Linked DNA regions of Homo sapiens: regions 1, 3, 4 and 5 are each linked to region 2. The links are contacts of gene promoters, found by promoter capture Hi-C in blood cells and fetal thymus (Javierre and others, 2016). All regions are on one chromosome and are shown on one strand. The core of a region is centred on a gene start or on the middle of the fragment in contact, and the rest is flanking DNA. Distances in the headings are between cores, read along the strand shown. Region 1 overlaps TPRG1 (tumor protein p63 regulated 1). Region 2 holds the start of TP63 (tumor protein p63). Region 3 overlaps TPRG1 (tumor protein p63 regulated 1). Region 4 overlaps TPRG1 (tumor protein p63 regulated 1). Region 5 has its middle 120 kb from the start of MIR944.

Evidence for each region. The method cuts DNA at HindIII sites, captures the fragments that hold promoters and counts their contacts. A CHiCAGO score of 5 or more calls a contact.
Region 1: a contact is called between a fragment that was not itself captured here and the fragment with the promoter of TP63 in region 2, in 3 of 17 cell types (naive CD8 T cells, activated CD4 T cells and non-activated CD4 T cells). The highest score is 7.1, in naive CD8 T cells.
Region 3: a fragment that was not itself captured here is called in contact with the fragment with the promoter of TP63 in region 2 in 1 of 17 cell types (activated CD4 T cells); the score reaches 5.1 in activated CD4 T cells.
Region 4: a contact is called between a fragment that was not itself captured here and the fragment with the promoter of TP63 in region 2, in 1 of 17 cell types (activated CD4 T cells). The highest score is 5.0, in activated CD4 T cells.
Region 5: a fragment that was not itself captured here is called in contact with the fragment with the promoter of TP63 in region 2 in 1 of 17 cell types (megakaryocytes); the score reaches 5.0 in megakaryocytes.

The regions. Positions count from the first base shown.
Region 1 is chr3:189,279,885-189,282,584 of GRCh38, reverse strand. The region is part of intron 4 of TPRG1 (tumor protein p63 regulated 1); the gene reads right to left. Among named protein-coding and RNA genes, the nearest start is that of TPRG1-AS2, 41 kb to the right of the region's middle. The HindIII fragment of the contact is 1,074 bases long and covers 892-1,965 here.
Region 2 is chr3:189,630,113-189,632,812 of GRCh38, reverse strand. TP63 (tumor protein p63) reads right to left here and starts at 1,424. Exons shown (of 14, transcript NM_003722.5): 1 at 1,236-1,424. The coding sequence starts at 1,297. RefSeq lists a cis regulatory region at 1,897-1,907 and a promoter at 1,300-2,109. The HindIII fragment of the contact is 1,324 bases long and covers 728-2,051 here.
Region 3 is chr3:189,321,796-189,324,495 of GRCh38, reverse strand. It overlaps TPRG1 (tumor protein p63 regulated 1), which reads right to left. Exons shown (of 6, transcript NM_198485.4): 6 at 1-2,700. Among named protein-coding and RNA genes, the nearest start is that of TPRG1-AS2, 83 kb to the right of the region's middle. RefSeq lists an enhancer at 1-430. The HindIII fragment of the contact is 1,634 bases long and covers 614-2,247 here.
Region 4 is chr3:189,243,144-189,245,843 of GRCh38, reverse strand. The region is part of intron 4 of TPRG1 (tumor protein p63 regulated 1); the gene reads right to left. Among named protein-coding and RNA genes, the nearest start is that of TPRG1-AS2, 3.9 kb to the right of the region's middle. The HindIII fragment of the contact is 4,979 bases long and covers 1-2,700 here.
Region 5 is chr3:189,952,275-189,954,974 of GRCh38, reverse strand. No RefSeq gene overlaps it. Among named protein-coding and RNA genes, the nearest start is that of MIR944, 120 kb to the right of the region's middle. The HindIII fragment of the contact is 2,124 bases long and covers 351-2,474 here.

The sequences.
Region 1 (2,700 bases), core at 179-2,678, 350 kb after region 2:
GAGGAAAGGGAGAGAAGAAGACAGAGAGAGAAGAGAGAACGAGAGAAAAGGGGGAGAGAGGAAGAAAGAATTAACAAAAAGGAGAGAGATGGAAGAGGAAATGGGACAAAAAATGAGGCACAAAATACACGTTTAATACCCTCTCCCCCACTCTCTCTGTCTTTTGAACTGCATGTTCAGGCAAATACAGGTGTTAGAAGAGTATGTAGAAGTAGCAACCAGAGCTGGCCTGGCTTGCTGAAAGAACAAACGCCTACAAGATATGACTTATGGAGCACCTGGCTGACCCACTGCCCAAAATAACACCATGTTATCCACTGATGCCTAAGATTCCACTACCTATGCTGCTGCCTTTTTTTTTTTTTTTTTGGAAAGGACTATTATGCCTACTGACATTGCCCTGGGTTAAGAAACTTTTTCGGTCTATTTGCAAATATTTAAAAACCTCAGCCAAGGCGGGCGGATTGCCTGAGCTCATGAGTTCAAGACCACCTTGGGCAACATGGTGAAACCTTGTCTCTACTAAAATACAAAAAATTAGACAAGCGTGGTGGTGGGTGCCTATAGTCCCAGCTACTCAGGAAGCTGAGGCATGAGAATTGCTTGAGCCTGGGAGGCAGAGGTTGCAGTGAGCTGAGATCATGCCACTGCACTCTAGCCTGGGCGACAGAGAGAGACTCTGTCTCCAAAAAAATAAAAAATAAAAATAAAATCCTCTTGTGGGTGTCTTTCAAGGTCTTTTCTGGGAGCTGGTTTAGACCTTGGAGTAAAAGAAGAAATGATGAAGTCAGTAGGTGCCTTGAGATGGAAAACATGTCAAACCAGAAAGGTAAAGTCATTGAGGACAAATTTACTAACTCAACTAGTGCTCAATCTTTGTGAAAACAAGCTTACCATAGCTTTAGCTTGGATTTATACATTAAGAAAGATGAAAAAAATACTTCTTATATTATGATTTTATATTTATAAAATTACATGTCATATAATTAGGATAAAAAATGTCTCCATATCTCTTATACACACTCACGTGCACACACACACATATGCATCCACGATAACATAGTTCAATGGGTGATTGGCTCAGGATATAAATGACATTTTTAAACAAAAAATATTTTCATCTTTCTGTTTTGCTGTCCTCTACATTTCACTGTAGTTCCTCTCAGGGTAGTAACATGGCTAAAGGTGTACGAAGTTTCACATACAGACCCAACAATGTAGGACTTCTTCCCATTTTTTTAATCAATAAAGAACATGTTTTCCTTAAGTTTACTAGGAGATTTTCACATTTGTGGGAAGTGATATTGCTCAGTGGTTAGGAGCACATAGTCTGGGATCAGACTCCTAGGTGTGGACCTTGCTTTACCATTTATTAGCTGTGTTTCCTTGAAGCAGTTCCTTAACCTCTCTATTCGTTAGCTTCCTCATTTGTGAAATGAATAATAGTATCTACCTTATAGTGTGTTAAATGAGTTAATGTATGTAAAGACATTTTAACAGCATTTGGTTGATGGCAAGTCCTATAACATGTCAGTTATTGGGCCTGAATTGGGTCATACAGTCATGGCTAAGACACTAACTGACATGTAGGAGAGCTTGCCATCATTCTTCTCCTGGGGCTGCAGACCACCTTTCCTGAATCTCATGGGTCTCCCGAAGGAGAATAGATACGTAGTTAAAAGTGGTTCTGCTTAGGATGGGGGAAGGGCATAAGTGATTGTTGGGTAGGCAATCAAAACTGTCTGCTACATGTATTATATCCCTTAATCTTTAATACAACGCTATGATGCAGATAGTATCATTCATATATTACAGAGCAAATCCAAGACTCAGAGAGGTGAATTAATTTGCCTCAGGTAAGAGAAATAGCCATGGTAGGGTTACAGCTTTAACCCAGGCTATCTGTCTTCGAGTCCTGTGTTCTTTCTGTTATGGCAATCACCTTCCCTTTACCTTCCCCAAGCTTCTTGTTGGCCTCCATGTGCATAGGTTTCCATTGGTCCTGTTTAGGTGCATGTAGAGAAGTTTTAGATATGGGTCTCAATGCTGCAGCTTAGAGGAGTGGAAAGATACAAGATAAAGTAGGAAAGAGGGGCATAAAAAAGCTCTAAGTTTTTCAATTCCTATTATTAATACACATGTTATATGAACTGAGTCTCCTCTCATTCATGACACTCATACTTACAAAAAACATTTTATCCTATACGGAAAGAAGTCAATGTTCAGTAAGTCCTAGTTCGTCATCTAAAATGTCTTCCATTCATTTATATATATTATTCCATTCATTTATATATATCCATTCATTTATATATATTATTCCATTCATTTATGTATATCCACAGGTGCATTCATTCACTTCTATATTGCCCGTGGCTGCTTTCACTCTACACTCTTCACTAACCACTATGGTGCTAGTCCTGTTGTTTACAACAGGGCTAAACAACAGGTGCTGATATGAGATATATGTTAACAGATAAGTCCCTGAGCTACAAAAGAGATAGTCTAATATCACTAATCCCTCTTATTTTCCACAGCAGGAATTCTATCCAACCATACCATAATGGGAAGTGGCTACCAATCCCGCTCAGAGGTTTTCCAGATAAAGACCCGTGATCTACCAAATATTCTAACTTTTCCTCTAACTCTTCTGCCTATCTGAAGGACTACATTCAGTTTTCCCGTTCATTCATACACCCCTAT
Region 2 (2,700 bases), core at 175-2,674:
TCAACTGCAGCTAGATCTAATTTTCACATTATACAAGAACATAAATCCTAGAGCCATTTATTTGTGCTAATATTGTTGTTTGTGGTAAACAGCAAGACACGAATCAAGCCACCACCAACAAATTCCACTGAAACCTTGGAGACCCCAAACTTGCTTCCCCTCTCTCTTTTTTCACCCTTTTCTTTTTATCTCCTTTATTCTATTTATCTTTCTGCCTTGCTCTTTCTCTTCTGCCTTTTCGCACAACCCACCAGAAACCTCACAGGAAGAGAAACAATCTACATAGCTCACATTAGTGTTCTACGTTGTAGCAAATCACGTTAAAGGAAGATCACAAATCTTTCACACTCTACTAGTCTACAGTAAGTGAGTCCTGCCCAGAGAGAGCAGAATCTGCTTCTAGTATCAAGCTCCAACAGACACAGGTGGTAAATGGCAAGTTAACCCTTTGTAACCTCACCATTTTCAACACGCAAAGGACCTCTCTCATTAGTCTTATAAAATAAAGTACGAAATCTCATGCTGTTAAACTAACATCACATTGCTACATATGACTTGAATATCTCCCATAACTTTATGACTGGAAAAACACTGTTCAGATTTCATTTACCAGTTTAAAAATAGCAAAGTCTAATTTGAAGCACATACACAATTGTGCACCCTCACTAATATTCTCTCTTAGTACTAGGCAAATGTTTCTAAATAAAATTTACTACAATCACAAGCTTTAAAAGTCAGATTTGTCAAAAGATTTTCATTATCAAACATACCAAAAAATATTCCTTATAAAATGCAATGACAAGCCACAATCTGTTTGGTACAACAATGGCTAGTTATCTATTTCTTAATGTATAAATCAAAATTATTTGGTGTTTATTTTGACTTGAAGATTATCCATACATTATTATATCCCTGCCCAGTGAAATTTCTTATTGAGTGAGTAGGTGCTGAACAAGGCAAATAATATATTTTAAACATTCTTAAATGGCGTGATAATTTTTTTTAAATGGGAAGATTCGCTTCAAATTTTTTCACTTTGTAGATCCAAATATCAACCAAAAAAGACATTCAGAAAATATGTCCACAGACCACTTTAAGTCCACAGAAAGTCCAAAATAATATCACTGTGCTGACTAAACAAGGAGGAATTGTTCTTTGTACACAGCTGACACATTCATAATACACAAGGCACTTCAATTAAGTTTTGAGAGAAGTTATGTCACATTCAAACTCACCGCTGGATGTAAGGGTCAGGGCAGTACTGTAGGGTGGCACACCGTGAAGTTTCAAAATTCATTTCCTTCAACTGTCTTTGATATCAACGAACGGAGAACAATTATATAAAATATACACATATACCTGTGTATATATAGATATAAAGCCGGGAGGCTAAAAGCAATAGGGTCAAATGCTATCAGACATAGAAGTTTAGGCACTTCTCTCCTTCATACATATTTGCAAAGAGGCGGAGCGTTTCTTGATTTTAGCCAATGAGATTCATCAATTGACTAAAACTTCATAAACACTCGATTCTTACCAGCTGGGCATCCTCTCTACTGTTGTTCTTCCCCCTCTCTCACGGCTTCAGAGTCCTTGACGTATAGTAGCCACACTTGTTGTTGGCAATTTGGAGCTGGAGGCATCTCTGAACTTCTGATCTCTGTCGTGATTGGATGCTGGCATGAATGGCATCAGAGTTTAATTTCAGCAGCCTGGACTTTTGTAACTGAACTGAGCTGATGAGTGTCCACCCTGCTCCAGCTACATAACACTTCCTTGTATCTGGATACTGGTTTGATTTGAGGATTTCTGTGACTATTTCTGGGGCTAAAATGTTTTGTAGAGCTGCTTAGGGAAGTTTTGTTTTGTTTTGTTTTTTCATCTATTTCCCTCCCTCCCCGCCCTTCAGTTTCCCTTTCAGCCAACCGCCTGTTGTGGTCACAATCTCAAATAGCAAAGACAGGGAAATTCCTTGATTATATTTAACTTAGAACTCACTCTTCCTCTCAGCTAAGAGAAAGAGATATCCCTTTCACATCCCCTTAGAAGCTTTGCCTGACCCGAATAAAAGAAAATAACCTTTATTGAGTTAAATATCCTACCTCAAACACATGCACATGTACTTACATATAATATAGTAATTTTCTTAAAGATATTAAAATTGGAAATAATATATTATTGTAGAATATTCTGAAGTGCACAAATTATTTCAAATTGCCTGTTAATAAAAATATTCTAGTTTATTTTAATCTCTCAGTCGGCTCCACTCTATTCTTTATGTCTTACAGTTTTTGCTGTTTTTGGTTTTGCTTTGACTTGACCTACTTCGAAAGGAAACCATAAAATTGTTCATATATTCCCAAATCAGTGTAATATCAGGAAAGTCTACACACAAAATAATTTATTTCCTTTCTGAATATGGGCTGTAAACTTATCCTGGTTTTGTGGATTTGGAAATTGAATGAAATATGATTCAGAAGCTCAGTTAGGATAGACTCCAACAGGGGGAAAAAAAACCACTCTGTGTATCTAACGGTCACTAACATGGTGAGTTCACATCTTCCCTTCACCCCCTAGTCACAGGACACACCTGTAAATAGGTGACATCAGTAGATGTCAAAGTTGTGAGACAATCTAAAGCCCTTTCAGAGAAATTTGACATTTCCCTGTAAGTAAATCTAACTCAAAATGTGTTTCATA
Region 3 (2,700 bases), core at 181-2,680, 310 kb after region 2:
AAATTCTTCCCAAACGACTGTGCCCTATTGTTTTCTCATTTCAAAATTATCTCAACAACTACGATACATCAATTCAGATGGCATGTCTTTCCCATGGAATACAGATATTATATTGGAAAGAGCAGTGGGCTAGGGATAGAAATTGGAAAATGTAGTCTAATCTCAGTATTTCCAAAAGTTCACCATCTTCTTTTTGAGAAATGTCTTTCTAGTTTCTAGGCCTTTGCTTCATTTTCTGTGAAATAAAAGCACTGAATTGACATGGTTTTTCTGCCTTCTTATCCCCAGAACTCTACAAACTGGCTTCCTAAGAAGGTTTAAACAAAGGCTGAATAAAAAATGGACCTCAAGGCAAATGATTCAGAAGTGCCAACTTATAAGTGAGCTTCTCTTTTCTGCCTTAGATGACCTTAAGATGACCAAAGGTCAGGCCTCCAAACAGGCCCAATTGACCACCGAGGAGTGAGTCCTGGTGATTGTTTAAAAGTCCTCCTGTTGTGTTAAAACATCTATCTGCTTTGAACTTTCTCACCCTCAGAACTGCCTACGATGTATCAGAAGATAGTGAGGCATTTGTCAGTGGAGCTGTTCAAGCAGTTTCTGAAATAAAGCTTATCAGAGATTTTTCAAGTGGAAATTCCTGAATGAGATAAAGACCGAATAATGAAGACCTCCAACCATGACATTTTGGTTATGAAATGCTTTGTACTCTACTTAATGTATCTTGCGTCTACTCCTATTATCAATCAAACTCATCATGCCATTTGCTAAACTGTAGTGGTAAGTTCAAATGATAGTCTGATAAAAACTCCAAGTGTACACATAGGTCCCCTGGGTTGTGGCTCCCTGTTGAGCTTAAGGACAAAGATCCCAAGTAAGAACACCAAGTGTAAAATGAGAAAACCATAATCAGTAGGTCGATGGTAATGAAGAAACAATTTCTGGAGGAAATGTAGTTCCCTTGGATGTTTTCCCACCTTCTGCTGCAAAAGTCACATCACTCTCTAGGCAAATACTCAAAACTTTCTGTTTAATAAAAGAATTTAACCTCATTTCATTGAATCCTCACAAGATCTTTATGAAATAAGCAAAAGTAATATAATTGTCTCCATTTCGCAGAAGAGGAAATTAAACCTTAGGAAAGGTAAGGAAATTTTTCAGGGTCTCCCATGATTGATCCAACTCTTTCCTAAGAAAAAAATGGGTCTAATTAACTAAGTACTAGCAACAATTATTTGGAAAATGATAGGGTCACCGGCCTTAAAAGATTATGTCAATCATTTCTCCAAACGGTATCATACAGCAATTCCTCTCACAATATCGACTTTATCTAGTCTTTCCTTGAACATACCAAGTGATGGTGGGCTCACTGTTTAAAGAAGCAACCCATTCCATCATTGAAAATTTATAACTATAAGAAGTTCTTTCTTATCTTGAACTGCTATCCAAATTCCTAAATCTTCTCACCCTCTGGTCATAATACCGCTTTCTAGATCCCATTTATCAATTAAGGGGATAGCCTATATATGACAGTTTTTACAAAATGTGAAGGGAATTCATAAAGACCCTCTTGTCGTCTCTGAGTTCACTCTTTATGCAAAACAGCTTTGATTCCATTAAATGCTTATCCCATTGTTACAGACTGGCTCTCAGAACTAAGAAACATCTCCCTCCTGTCATCCTTTCTGAACTGTTTCCATTGATGATGGTGCACTGTGTCCTTTAGAAGGTCATTTGGGAACAGTCTGGCTTAGGTTACAAAGGGGGCAAATGTGCAGAGAGAAGTCGATTGTCAGGCTGATCCTTAAATGGTAACTCAAAAGAATGTGCTGGACATTTCAGAGGCTTCTGCCAATAAATGCCACTATCTTGAGGCAAATGGGGATTTTCGGGCAGCAGTATTATAATAATTTGCCAATTATGCCTGCTTCAGAACCAGTGCCAAAACAATCCAACGACTTTTCATTCCACTACTGTTGACAGGACAGCTATGGATTTCAACATTTCCTTTTACAGTCTGAATAGAAGTTCCCTGCCTTGGGGACTATAACAATATTTGCCATCATGGGGGGAAGAAAAAGTGGGTGCTGTAAAGGCGGAAGAGAGGGAAAGAAAAAAAAATTAATGGAAGTAAACAAAGACAAAATAAAATAAGAGTTATTCAAGGTTTAGGGTTTGAATGTCTGCATTAAATTGATGTTTATAAATATATCAGAGGACAAATCTTTGAAATTGAGGAAGCAAGCTTTTCAAAGAAAAGACTTTAAACTTCACATAAAAGTCAAAAAAAAGTTGGCTGGAATTTCAACTTAAACATCAACAAAGATGTGTCAATTTTGAGTCTTGGGAAAGGCAAAAAGCTTATTGTAGTAATGTCTATGTAGTCAACATTCAAAGCTTTTTTTTCTACATAAATTTAGATAAAATAAGACTCTGAAAGAAAAAAGAAAAGAAACTTGAGAGATGCAAACATATGAGATAATTTCCTGGGTTGTTGAAAATTAGATCTAAGTCGGGAAGAGACAAAGAGGAAATAAGAGGGAAAAGAGCAATGACAATAGAGTGTTAAGACAGTGTTTTTGAAAACATGGTCTTCAAAACCCTCTGCGATCCATGGACATTCCATATGCAGCACCTCTGAGGCCTAGAAAGAAAGATGCCTGTGGCATTCTCATCTTCACTCCAACCGCATTGAACCTA
Region 4 (2,700 bases), core at 96-2,595, 390 kb after region 2:
AATAGACTCAAAATATGTGAGGCAAAAGTTAACAAAATTAAAAAGAAAACTAGAAAATTCCACAGTGATAGATTTTTGCACTCCACTCAGTAACTATTAAAAAACTACACAAAAAATCAGTAAAAATATATATAATCTAAATAGCATTATCAAACACAATATCCCAATTGATATTTGTAAAAAACTACAAATAAAATTCAAGTGTACATGACAAATTCACAAAGATATATCATAATGAGCTTCATAAAACAAATCCGAAAGTATCAGTAAGGAATAAAATTAAAGACAGTATGCTCTCTAAATTAGAATTAAGTATAATTAAGATATCTATAAAAACCTGAAATATTTGGAAATTAGCCAATACAACTTACAATGCATCCATGGGTCAAGAGGAAAATCACAAGAAAAATTTAAAAATATCTCTAAATGATAATAGACACACAACATATCAAAATCTCTGGGAAGCAGCAAAAGTAGTACTTAAAAGGAAATTTATAACTGTAGATGTTCATATTAGGAAAGTTTAAAATCAATAACCTTGGGCTGCACTTCAAGAAGTTAAAAAAAGAAAAAGTAAACCCAAAGTAGAAGAAAGGAAATAATAAGGAAAAGAGTAGAAATGAACCGGGCGCAGTGGCTCACACCTGTAATCCCAGTACTTTGAGAGGCCAAGGCAGGCGGATCACCTGAGGTCGAGAGTTCAAGACCAGCCTGACCAACATGGAGAAACTCCATCTCTACTAAAAATACAAAAAATTAGCTGGGCATGGTGGCACCTGCCTGTAATCTCAGCTACTTGGGAGGCTGAGGCAGGAGAATCGCTTGAACTCCGGAGGTGGAGGCTGCGGTGAGCCAAGATCATACCGTTGCACTCCAGCTTGGGCAACAAGAGTGAAACTGCCTCAACAACAAAAAAAGAGAGCAGAGATAGAGATCAACTAATTAGTAATTAGCAAAACAATAGTAAAAGTTAACCAAGTGAAAAGCATGATCTTGTTAAAAACCAACAGAATTGGTATGATCATCAACAGAAGAGAAAAAAGAGGGAAGACACAGATCACTGATATGGTTTGGATCTGTGTCCCCACCAATTCTCATCTTGAATTGTAATCCCCAGTGTTGGAGGTGGGGCCTGATGGAAGATGATTGGATCATGGGGGCCTATTTCTCAGGAATGGTTTAATGCCATCCTCTTGGTACTCTCCTCATGATAGTGAGTGAGTTCTTGTAAGATCTGGTCATTTAAAAGTGTGTAGCATCTCCCCACTTTCTCTCTTGCTCCTGCTCCTACCATGTGAGATGCCTTGTTCCCTTTTTCCTTCTGCCATGATTGGAAACTTCCTGAGGCCTCTCTAGAAACAGAAGTTTCTGTATAGTCTGCAGAACTCTGAACCAATTAAACCTCTTTTTTTTCTTCTTTTTTTGAGATGGAGTCTCATCTCTGTCACCCAGGCTGGAGTGCAGTGGCTCGATCTTGGCTCACTGAAATCTCCACCTCCCAGGTTCAAGCAATTCTCCTGTCTCAGCCTGGGATTACAGGCATGCACCATCATGCCTGGCTAATTTTTGTATTTTTAATAGAAACGGGGTTTCACCATGTTGGCTAGGGTGGTCTCGAACTCCTGACCTCAAGTGATCCATCCACCTTGGCCTCCCAAAGTGCTGGGATTACAGGTGTGAGCCATTGCACACGGCAAACCTCTTTTTTTAATAAATTACCCAGTCGCAGATATTTCTTTATAGCAATGAGAGAACAGAATAATACAGAAAATTGGTACCAGGAATAGGGCATTACTATAAAGATACCTAAAAATATGGAAGCAACTTTGAAATTGGGTAACAGGCAGAGGTTGAATGAGTTTAGAGGGTTCAGAAGAAGACAGGAGGATGAGGAAACGTTTGGAACTTTCTAGAGACTGGCTGAGTGGTTATCACCAAAATGCTGATAGTGATATAGACAGTGAAAGCCAGGCTAATTAAGTCTCAAATGTAAATGAGAAACTTATTTGGAACTGGAGCAAAGGTCACTTTTGTTATGCCTTAGCAAGGAACTTGGCTGCACTGTGCCTCTGCCCTAGGTATCTGTGGAAGTTTCAACTTGAGAGTGATGATTTAGGATTATCTAGTGGAAGAAATTTCTAAGCATCAACACATTCAAGATGTGACCTGGCTGCTTCTAAGAACCTATACTCATACATATGAGCAAAGAAATGACTTAAAGTTGGACTCATGTTTAAAGAAGAAACAGCATAAAAGTTGGAAAATTTGAAGACTGGCCATATGGTAGGAAAAAAAAAAGCCAATTTTCAGGGGAAGAATTCAGGTAGGCTTCAGAAGTTTGCATATATAAAAAGGAGCAAATGCTCATAGCCAGGACAATAGGGAAAACAACTCACAGGCATTTTAGAGACCTCCTTGGGGGGTCCTCCCATCACAGGTCCTGAGGCCTAGGAGGACTAAACCCCCAGTGTTAGAAGTGGGGCCTAATGGGAGGTGATTGGATTATGAGGGCAGATTTAGCAGGAATGGGTATCATCCTCTTTGTATTGTCCTCACAATAGTGAGATCTGGTCACTTAGAAGTATGTAGCACCTACCCCTCTCTCTCTTGCTCCTGCTCCCACTATGCAAGATGCCTCACTCCCCCTTTGTTTTCTGCCATGATTAGAAATTTCCTAAGGCCTCCACAGAAGTGGAATCC
Region 5 (2,700 bases), core at 163-2,662, 320 kb before region 2:
GCCAGAGCTAAAGCCAGGACTGTTGAACTTGGTTATGCAAGAATGCCTGTGGGAGTGTACATGGGGGCTGGAACCCTGGCACAGGGCTTTGTCCAGCTGGTGGAAGGGATGTCTTATTCTATTTGCCCAGAGATGGTACTTGCTTACCAATCTATGGACCTGCAGGGCTATATCTTTCCAGAAAGGGTGTCTTTTCTAATTCTCACGAAGTGCTGAATGTGCTTGAGTCAGCCTAGGTTAAATAGTCCAATGTGTATGAATAGTACATCTCATCTGTGTTATCTGAGGAATTACCGTTGGTCTTGGTGATGATCCTTCCCTTGTGTGAAAAGTCTGCAGCTCACAAAGCTTTTATTTTCACCTATATTATTGTTTTGAATGCTTATGACACAGAGCATGTTCACACACTGGGAACCCCAGGAGGTATTCTGGGCATGGATCGTGATGTCCATTTTGCAGATGAGGACATGGAGAGCAGTGGAGAGAGGTGATTACCTGGGGTCACGTGGCTCAGAGTGTCCAGGTCTGAGCTAGAAGCACAGTCTTTTGGGTCAGAAGGGAGAAAAGAGCACCAGGGTTGTTGCTCCCCTGGCCGTGCTTCTAGGCATATTAAATATAAAATAATAAATGTGAATAAAAAAGTCTGATTTTACCAAATCAAGAAAACCTTTTTCTCCTCTTTTATTTTCCTGCTGAGGGATGTATGTTGGCATACTTCCTCTTCTCTCCTCTGTGATATATTGAATACGAGTTGTATTATTCAATTTGATTCAGCCCTATTTTTAAAGACATACCTTGAGCCTTGAACTGCTTTTATGAAGCTCACAAAAGGGAAGAGGATTCTAGTCAGGTATCATTTTTCTCTCCCTCAAAGGCAAAAAGAATCTTGAACTTAAATTTCTTCTTTAGAAAAATCTGACACAGGACAGAGTGATACTGTGGATGGGCGAAGTGCTTTCTTCACAGCCCCGAACCTACATTGTTTGACAAGGAAATCTCAGTTTTAACGCACTCTTAAGACTTTTAATGCACTCTTCATCATTGACATCATAACATTTTTGGCACTTCCTCAGCTGAGGAGAAGCCATGGAATGAGTCAGTGCTATTTAATAATATATACCTGTGAATTTTAATTGAAGTACAAATGCTGAATTATTTCACACAAGAGAACCACAGGGAATGACTCCCTCACTGACGTCAAGAAAGGAGGTAATGGGGGCCGCCTCACCAGTTCCTTATGCCAAAGCATTGAACATTCTGAGCTGACTGACAGTGGTATGGCTGAGAAGTGGGAAAATGTTGACCTGTTCCCACATCCAGAGCACTTTAGGGAAACAGGAGCCATTGGCAAAAACTCCAGACCACAAGTCCGTGTTACAAGCCCTCTCTGCCTCCTGCCAAGAAGGCTGTGATGTGAAATGACGTCTCACATAGTTCCAACTGCCCACCCACAAATCCTCTACTCCCTGATAATTTGATGTTTCCAACAGGAGGCATATAGACTTTTTTTTTTTTTTTTTTTCTCCTGAACCTGGTTGATTTCTTCAAACACATCAAAACAAGTAACATCAGCCACTCATTGAGCTCACTGCTGGGTTGGAGCTGCAGACTCATTCTGTCAGAGCTTCCCCTTTACCTCCTCCTCCTTGTAATTCACAGTGTTTTCTGTGCCCACTGCTGACCTCCGAGGCTGGGCAAAGCCAAGTTGGGAACAATCTGACTATTGATTCTGTTTCACTCTACAATGGATGGCATCAGCTGTAAAAAGTTGGGTTAATGAGGCACCTCTGGCTTCAACTATCTTATTAAGGGCCCGCAATAAAAATAACCAAACAAGATGTTCCTATCATTTTTTTTCCAGACATGTTGCTGGGGAGGAAAATCTAAATGAATGCTTCGTTTAGTCAACATATGACACATGTTTTCTAGTCATTTTATATGGTACATTTAGGAGAAGGGAGAACAAAAGGTGAATAAGACATGCTGTACCCCCTCTCTTTATTTTGGTAGAATGGCCACAGAGGAGAGCCAGGGTAGCCTAGAGTTTGACAGTCTTTCTACCTTAACAGTCCCTTTTATAATTATCTGATATCTTCTGCTTTTGAAGGACGAATCAATTTCGAATAGATAAGGCCACGTGCCTTCTTGATTTGAGCCTCATTTCAACAGTGAATTGAGTGTTACCTATATATATGGGAATCTTGCCCTGGGCCTCTCTCATCAGACCTAGGTGCCTTCCCGCATGACGGCAGCGTGATGACATCGGTCCTAATAATCTTATCCAGACCCGAGGTAAACCCTCCTCTCTTATTCCAAGTTTATGTTTTTACCTCTGAGTTACTACCTGGTGGTGGGTGGAGGTAGAAATAGGGAATGGACAATAAGCATTACCTGGTATGTCTCATCTCTTTCCACTTGTTAATCGTATATTCCATTGTTTCAAAGGTTGTAATCGTGGTTGGCTTTATAAAGCTTTTTTATGGTCTTGAAGCACGTAGCAATCATATGTAACTACATAATTATCTTGAGAGACACGTCAATGCCATCTTCATTGTGTAAATGGGAAAAAACAAACAGGCACAGAGAAGGTGATGTCGTAAAGCCCTGGTCATGTATGAATTCATTTCACAGAGAGTTTTTGAGTGGCCGTGCCGTTGTAGGCTTAGGGAGGCATTTAAAGATGAATAAAATGTTATCCCT